2 separate regions of the Homo sapiens genome follow, and region 1 is linked to region 2. Evidence: promoter capture Hi-C in 16 types of primary human blood cells and fetal thymus (Javierre and others, 2016). All regions are on one chromosome and are shown on one strand. Each heading gives the region's core, a stretch centred on a gene start or on the middle of the fragment in contact. The rest is flanking DNA. Distances are from core to core; before and after follow the strand shown. Region 1 overlaps SLC6A3 (solute carrier family 6 member 3). Region 2 holds the start of SLC6A18 (solute carrier family 6 member 18).

The links. The method cuts DNA at HindIII sites, captures the fragments that hold promoters and counts their contacts. A CHiCAGO score of 5 or more calls a contact.
Region 1: a contact is called between a fragment that was not itself captured here and the fragment with the promoter of SLC6A18 in region 2, in 3 of 17 cell types (naive CD4 T cells, total CD4 T cells and naive CD8 T cells). The highest score is 6.8, in naive CD4 T cells.

Annotation. Positions count from the first base shown.
Region 1 is chr5:1,419,589-1,423,209 of GRCh38, reverse strand. SLC6A3 (solute carrier family 6 member 3) reads left to right here. Exons shown (of 15, transcript NM_001044.5): 5 at 1,196-1,334; 6 at 2,507-2,641. Among named protein-coding and RNA genes, the nearest start is that of SLC6A3, 24 kb to the left of the region's middle. RefSeq lists an enhancer at 15-540. The HindIII fragment of the contact is 7,423 bases long and covers 1-3,621 here.
Region 2 is chr5:1,222,914-1,226,797 of GRCh38, reverse strand. SLC6A18 (solute carrier family 6 member 18) reads right to left here and starts at 1,417. Exons shown (of 12, transcript NM_182632.3): 1 at 1,161-1,417. The coding sequence starts at 1,320. SLC6A19 (solute carrier family 6 member 19) reads right to left here. Exons shown (of 12, transcript NM_001003841.3): 12 at 1,687-3,884. RefSeq lists an enhancer at 481-1,023. The HindIII fragment of the contact is 4,471 bases long and covers 1-3,371 here.

The sequences.
Region 1 (3,621 bases), core at 363-2,862, 200 kb before region 2:
CACCATGGGCAGCACTGGGCAGCAGTGGGTACCCAGCAGCGTGGGCAGCACTGTGGGCAGCGGTGGGCACCTAGCACCGTGGGCAGCACTGGGCAGCAGTGGGTACCCAGCAGCGTGGGCAGCACTGTGGGCAGTGGTGGGTACCCAGCACCTTGGGCAGTACTGTGGGCAGTGGTGGGTACCCAGCACCTTGGGCAGCACTGGGCAGCAGTGGGTACCCAGCAGCGTGGGCAGCACTGTGGGCAGCGGTGGGCACCCAGCAGCGTGGGCAGCACTGTGGGCAGCGGTGGGTACCCAGCACCATGGGCAGCACTGTGGGCAGCGGTGGGCACCCAGCACCATGGGCAGCACTGGGCAGCAGTGGGCACCCAGCAGCGTGGGCAGCACTGTGGGCAGCGGTGGGTACCCAGCACCGTGGGCAGCACTGTGGGCAGCGGTGGGCACCCAGCACCTTGGGCAGCACTGGGCAGCGGTGGGCACCCAGCACCGTGGGCAGCACTGTGGGCAGTGGTGGGCACCCAGCACCATGGGCAGCACTGGGCAGCGGTGGGTACCCAGCACCATGGGCAGCACTGGGCAGCGGTGGGCACCCAGCACCATGGGCAGCACTGGGCAGCGGTGGGTACCCAGCAGCGTGGGCAGCACTGTGGGCAGCGGTGGGCACCCAGCAGCGTGGGCAGCACTGTGGGCAGCGGTGGGCACCCAGCAGCGTGGGCAGCACTGTGGGCAGCGGTGGGCACCCAGCAGCGTGGGCAGCACTGTGGGCAGCGGTGGGTACCCAGCAGCGTGGGCAGCACCGTGGGCAGCGGTGGGCACCCAGCACCTTGGGCAGCACTGGGCAGTGGTGGGCACCCAGCATTGCTCAGCAACTTCCTTTTGGTTTCTGTGGCTCCTTTTCTTCAAAGACCCAAGGTGCCCTCCGCCTCCGCAGCTCCAGTGAGCAGGGGTGCCAAGGGCAGATGGTGAGGCAGGGCTTCCTGGGCCTCCCACGTGCTCCACGGGTTTCAAGGGCGGCCCTGACACCTCTGCCAGGGCCTGTGGGCCAGACCTCCCTGGAAGGCATCTCTTGTCCATCAGACTGGATGCTTTCTGCCCTGCTGAGATGGGGAGGGCAGGTCCCCGGACAAGCTCAGCCGTCCAGTTCCAGGTGGGTTGACAGCCACCCACAGAGTCCCCCGCTGACTCCCCTCTGCAGACGTGGCGTGCTGCACCTCCACCAGAGCCATGGCATCGACGACCTGGGGCCTCCGCGGTGGCAGCTCACAGCCTGCCTGGTGCTGGTCATCGTGCTGCTCTACTTCAGCCTCTGGAAGGGCGTGAAGACCTCAGGGAAGGTGAGGCTCGGGGGTCACCAATTGGGCCTGTAGACATGGGGCCACCAAGTGGACATGTGGCCGTGGCTGGACAGGAGGTGCACGTGTGGCCTCAGTTGGGTTTTGTGCTACCAATGTGGCCATGGCCAGGTTGGGGTGGACACATGGCCATGGTTGAGTTTGGGAGACTCATATGGCCATAATCAGGTTGGGAGTGTACACGTGGCCATGATTGAGGGTACACCTGTGGCTGTGCCGGGTTGGCTTGGGTAGACGCGCGGCCATGGGTGGGTGGGGGGACACGTGGCCGTGGCTGGGCTGGGCGGACACACGGCACAGTTGGGTTTTGGGTCCACGTGTGGCTGTGTTTGGGGAAGGGCCTCAGGAGGGAAGCACTCACAGCAGTGTTTCTGGCAGGAAGGCACACACAAGATGATTTTTTTGTTGATAAAAATACTTTGGGAGGCTGAGACGGGCAGATCACCTGAGGTCAGGGGTTCAAGAACAGCCTGGCCAACATGATGAAACCCCATCTCTACTAAAAATACGAAATTAGCCAGGCACGGTGGCACGTGCCTATAATCCCAGCTACGTGGGAGGCTGAGGCAGGAGAATTGCTTGAACCCAGGAGGCGGAGGTTGCAGTGAGCCAAGATCATGCCACTGCACTCCAGCCTGGGCAAAAAGAGCAAAACTCCATCTCAAAAAAAAAAAAAAAACTTTGGTTGTTATATGGGCCAAAACCAGTTTTGACCAAGATACGACTCCTCCCTTGGAAAAGTGCGTGTAGTATGGCACCAGCCACGGGAGCCTCCCGCAGGGACACAGCCCAGAGCAGCCCTTCATCGTGCCACAGTGCCGTTCACCAGTGTGAATCCACTCACGTCCCACGCATCAGAAAACCCCCATCAGCCACTCCCAGCTACTCTGGCGGACCGAATGCAGAAAAGGAATGTGCTTTCCCTGCCAAGTTGTTCTTCCCTTTCCATCCCTGGGGAGGGTGTGCAGGACAGAAAGTGTCTGACCTTCTCACTCCAAGGAGCATTTGCTGAGCTGGCGTCCCAGGAAATGTTTGGGAATTGGGCCTCCCAATCAGAGGACAAGCCGTCAGGGCAACCCGGTGCCCTTGTGCCAGTGTCTGCTCCCACCAAGGGCCCTGCCTGTGCAGCCTGGTGACACTGTCCTCTCCTGCAGGTGGTATGGATCACAGCCACCATGCCATACGTGGTCCTCACTGCCCTGCTCCTGCGTGGGGTCACCCTCCCTGGAGCCATAGACGGCATCAGAGCATACCTGAGCGTTGACTTCTACCGGCTCTGCGAGGCGTCTGTGAGTACAGTCTGCTCACTGCTTCACAGTCCACAGGGGCTCTGGCATTCCCAGGTTTCCATATGCATTGCCTGCCAGGGCTGAGAGGTGTCAGAGTTGCAGACACCAGGGTTCTTTCCTCGGGAAGCCAAATCCCAAGTACCTGTGATACAGCACGAGTCATCTAAATCAAATTACATCAGAAACTCCATCTAGACTCAGGCTGCAGCTTTGGTCAGCAAAAGAAGACATAATTCAGGGTTAAAATATTTGGAGAAAGCCTCCCGGAGAGAGGAGACTCAGCTGGGCCATGGGGGATGGGACCCTTGTCCAGAAAGGGAGGAGAAAGGGCTGCACCCTTCCTGGCAAACAGGCCCAGAAACAGAAGCAGCTGTTGGCGGAAGGCTGGCATGACAAAAATGGCAGCTCCCTTGGGGCATCGTTGGAAATCAGGTGGACTAAGTGGGGGAGGTGGCAGGCCCCAAAGCCGCCCAGGGGCATCCATGTTGCTGTGGGAGGACAATGCAGCAAGAGGGGAAGGGCCATCTCAGCTGGGGTATGAGGCAGGAGGCCGTTGAGAGGTGCTGCCCTGTGTGGGTGGGCCGGTGGAGCCAGGTCTGGGGGTCATGAGGCAAGTGTAAACCCAAGGCAGAAGTGGGAAGGAAGGGGAGAAGGGATGGGCGGGCATGGCTGCAAGCCTCCCAGGAAGCCCCAGGGAGGCAGCAGCTGACAGGTGCAGTGAGAGAGGGCACCTGGACATGGCACCTATGAGGCTGCAAAGCAGTTGGGTGGGGGTGGGGGTGGAAGTGTGCCTGCAGCACTGAAGGGGAAGCCCTGTGGAGACAGGAGCCATGGGTGCAGCAGGCGTGTGGCCCACGGGAGCCAAGGAAGAGAGAGGAGGACAACCAGGGCAGCAAAATCAGCTGTGGCCGGGGGCCCACAAGTGCAGAGCTGGAGCCAGACAAACCATGAAGTCAGCAGGGCGTCTGGACCCCAGAAAG
Region 2 (3,884 bases), core at 168-2,667:
AGGCAGCGAGGGCCCCGGGAGCCAGGGACGCCTCTGCCCTTGGGCTTTGGTGCTTTCAGAAATGCCTTCAAAGGGACTCTCATGATGAGAAGATCCAAGGCCCAATGCACCCTCTCCAGCCCCAAAGCCCCAAAGAGACCCCAGTGCCCCGAGGGTGGCAGTGACGGGTGTTTCTTTTTGTTTTTTCCATTTGTGCGCATTTCCTGCATTTTCTGCCTGTTGAGAATCTTTTCTTAAGCAGGAGGAAAAACACTTTAAAGGAGTAACCTTATAACAAGGGATAGTTGTGCGGGGCTCTCAGGGAAGGAGCTGAGGGCCCGGGGAACAGGCTGACCAAGCAGCCCGGCCTGGCCTGAGGAGGACCCTGCGGCCTGGGAAGCCCCTGCCCGTGTTGCCTGGGGAAGACCTGGGTGTCCATGCGTGATGTTGTACGTCGGCTCCCTGAGAGCAGTGATTCATGCCTGTCCCTACATCCTGTGTCGCCACATGGAGAGCAGAGTGTGACCCCTGCATGAAGAGAAGCAGGCACAGGGTGAGGGGAGGCTCGAGGTGCGTGGGAGCCTATTTCAGTCACCAATGCACTTCTGGGGGTGGTGAGTCCAAGGTCACTAAAGTCACCCAGACAGTTCTGAACATCCTGGCACCCCCCACAGGGCTCTCCCAGAGAACCAAAGCCAGGGAGGCGAGGGGTGGGCCCCCAAATTCCTGCAAAGAACCTCGGAGAAGGGCACCTGAGCACATGTCTGGACACACCAAGGCTGTGGTGAGGAAACCCAGAGCGGATTGTGTGTTCTTTAAAGAACTGACGACATTCAGATGGAAGAGCGCTCACTGTTTGTAGGGTGTGTGTGTCGGGCAGGGCGGCCCATTCAACCTGACGCCTGGCAGGAAGCTGCCCTGAGGTCCCGGAAGACCATAGTGGACCCCGAGGGGACTGGATCCTCCGTGCTGTGGGCAGTGGTGAAGCTGCCCTGAGGTCCCAGAAGACTGCAGGTGGGCCCTGAGGGGACTGACTCTGCCGTGGGCAATGGTGCACCCTGGTTTCCAGGAGGAGTGACTCTGCCCAAGCACTGGGGATGCGTGGCAGGCGCCTGGCAGGTCAGGGTGGAGACGGCCTCCCCTGCTTAGGGGTCTGCCCCAGGACGCAGGTGGGTGCTTACCTCCTCCATAGGTCTGGCACAGGTATGGGAACCGCCAAATGTTCCCCAGTCCCACGGCAAACCCAGTGCAGCTCAGGAGGTACTGGGCCTTGTTGTCCCACTTGGGCCTCTCATCCCCGAGGTCGCAGGCGGCCGGGTCCGGTTCTGGGGCATGAGCCATGGTGACTGAGTGCCCCAGGCTTCAGGGCAAGGGTGGTGCCTCACTCCACACCCAGCACTAGAGAGCCGTCTCCAGCCTCTGCCGACGTTTGGAAACCACAAGCAGCCCCACTGCAGTTGTATTTATTCATTTCTTTAAAGGAAAACCAGTGGAGTGCCGTTAATGGGTAACTCAGGTCCAGGCCCTGGCTCTGACGCCAGGGTCCTTCCCTGGCACCCACGTCCTCTGCTCCTTCTCGCATGCTCTGTGTTCCAGGCAAACGCCGGGCCTGGCACCACCCCCAGCACCATGAGGACCGTTTGCAAGGACAGCCTCAAGTTTTTTTGTTGCAGACACCAGGATTCCCAAGACTGAGGCATATTTTAATCGTTTTAAATTTCTTATGTTTTATTTAACCATTTGATCTTGAGATACTTATAGATTGTCACTCTGTCACTGTCAGAAACAACTCAGATCAGATCGCATGCACCCGAAGCCCGGATTCCCGCAGGGATCCTCTCAGCTGCTCTTGGGAGGCCGGGGGCTGCCCTCACACCCACTGCTGCCCTCGGGCCGCTGGGCAGGACAGGGTGACAGGCACCCACCGTGCGTGGGGGCAGAGGGCTGAGTCCTCTCCTGTGCTGGGGGCACCCCTGTCCATGGGTGGAGGGTTGATGAGTTGACGCCGGGTGAGTTCAGCTCTAAGGAGCTCCCCACAGTGCTCCCTGGACTCTGGGGCTCCTCCTTGCAGATGCTCCCGCCACGGACAGGCCAAGGGCCCCCAGGCCCGCAATTGCCCCATTCCACTGGACACTGCACCCCTCAACCGTGTGGCCACAACTCCAAATCCATGAGTCCCAGGGCAGGGGCCCAGGTGGACACATTTTTGGAAGGTTCTTATTTGAGTGAGAGGAAGTGTGAGGGAAGAAGATGAGAAGAGCTGGTTGGTCCCCATTGTGAGGCCACAGGCCTGGGCCATGGCCTCTTCGGAGCAAGCCCCCAAAGCCAGACCCCCCAGGAGGAGGCAGGAGCTGGACCTGCCGTCCCCACCATCCCGTCTGAGGTCACTGGCTCACTCATCCCTCTACGTCTGGACAACAGTAACTTCTAGGGTGAGCATACTCAATAGAAGGGATTTATTTAGAAATGTACACTTTATGCCCATAAAGCCTGCATTTCTACCACATTTACAGAGACATTGAAACCTATGAAACAACGCATGAATCAGGAGATGTAGATGAGATGGGAGCTCCCGCCCAGGGTCCTATGGCAGGCACACCAGGGTACACCAATGGATGCCAGGGCACATCAGTGCACACCTGTGCATGCCAGGGTACACCAATGCACACCTGTGCACGCCTGGCAGGGCCTCCTGGGCAGATGCCACAGGGCAGCATATTAATGGGGCACTGATGGAAATTTTCTCGATCCAGGGCCAAAGAGCAGGAAAAGATGAGGTGAGACCCTGTTGAAGCCATCAGCAGGCGAGCCCCTCGGTGGCATCACAGCCGGGGGCAGAGGCTGTGATATGTCCCCCCACCTCTGCTGCTGTGGAGTCTTGCGCATCCCAGGGCCCAGTGACAGTCAGCAGGGTGAAAGGGGCTGGTAGGGGACTCAGTGTGTGCAGTCACTGCTGGATGGGGTGCTGGAAGGGACGATTGTGACCAGGTTTCTGTGGGTGGAACATCATACTGGCACACACCAGGCTTTCAGTCCTGCCTGTAGGAATTCTCAGAACATCAGTTTAATGTAAGCGTCCAGATTCTTCTATGGAAAGCAGAGGTGACCTGTCCGTAGGAACTCTCAGAACACCAGTTTAATGTAAGCATCCAGATTCTTCCATGCAAAGCGGAGGTGACCTGTCCGTAGGAACTCTCAGAACACCAGTTTAATGTAAGCATCCAGATTCTTCCGTGCAAAGCGGAGGTGACCTGTCCGTGGAAGCAGATGTCCCAAGTGCCGACTGCCTTTGGCTGCGATGGAATGTTGAACCCCAATGGGGGCCCATCCCGTGACGGGGGCAGGGCAGGCGCCAGGCTGGGCTTCACTGAGTGGTGCGGGAGCTGGAAGCTTCTGGGGGCTGCACGGTCCTCCAAGGTGCCCTGGACACACACAGTGCCCAAGGATGGCAGCCAGGGTTGAGTTACCCTGTAACCCATCTTTTCCAAAGGCTGGCTAAAAATTCACACAGCTCATGTCCTCTTAAGAAAATGCACAGAGTGGTATTTGCCTTGAATTATGCCAAGTTGAGTTTTATTTAACTGCTCATCTATTTGTGGTGGCAGGAGCAATGATTAAATGGCTGGCATTCATTAAGCCGGGAAGCGGCCAGAACGCAGAGACTCGGCAGCGGCCGACTGGAGGCAGGGCCCCGGTGGATGCGGCCAAGTTTTCTCAGAATCGCCAGCAACTGCCCACTCCGGCTTCCGAGAGGCTGCTCCGGGTCGAGGGCTACAGGGCTCTGGGAACCCCCAGGTCAAAGGTCAACACCAAGGGGAAGGGGATGGGTGGGGGTGGGTAGCAAGAGTCGCTCCCAGGAGCCAAGATAGTACCCTGTGCTTTTGTCTCCTGCCACCCACAGAGAT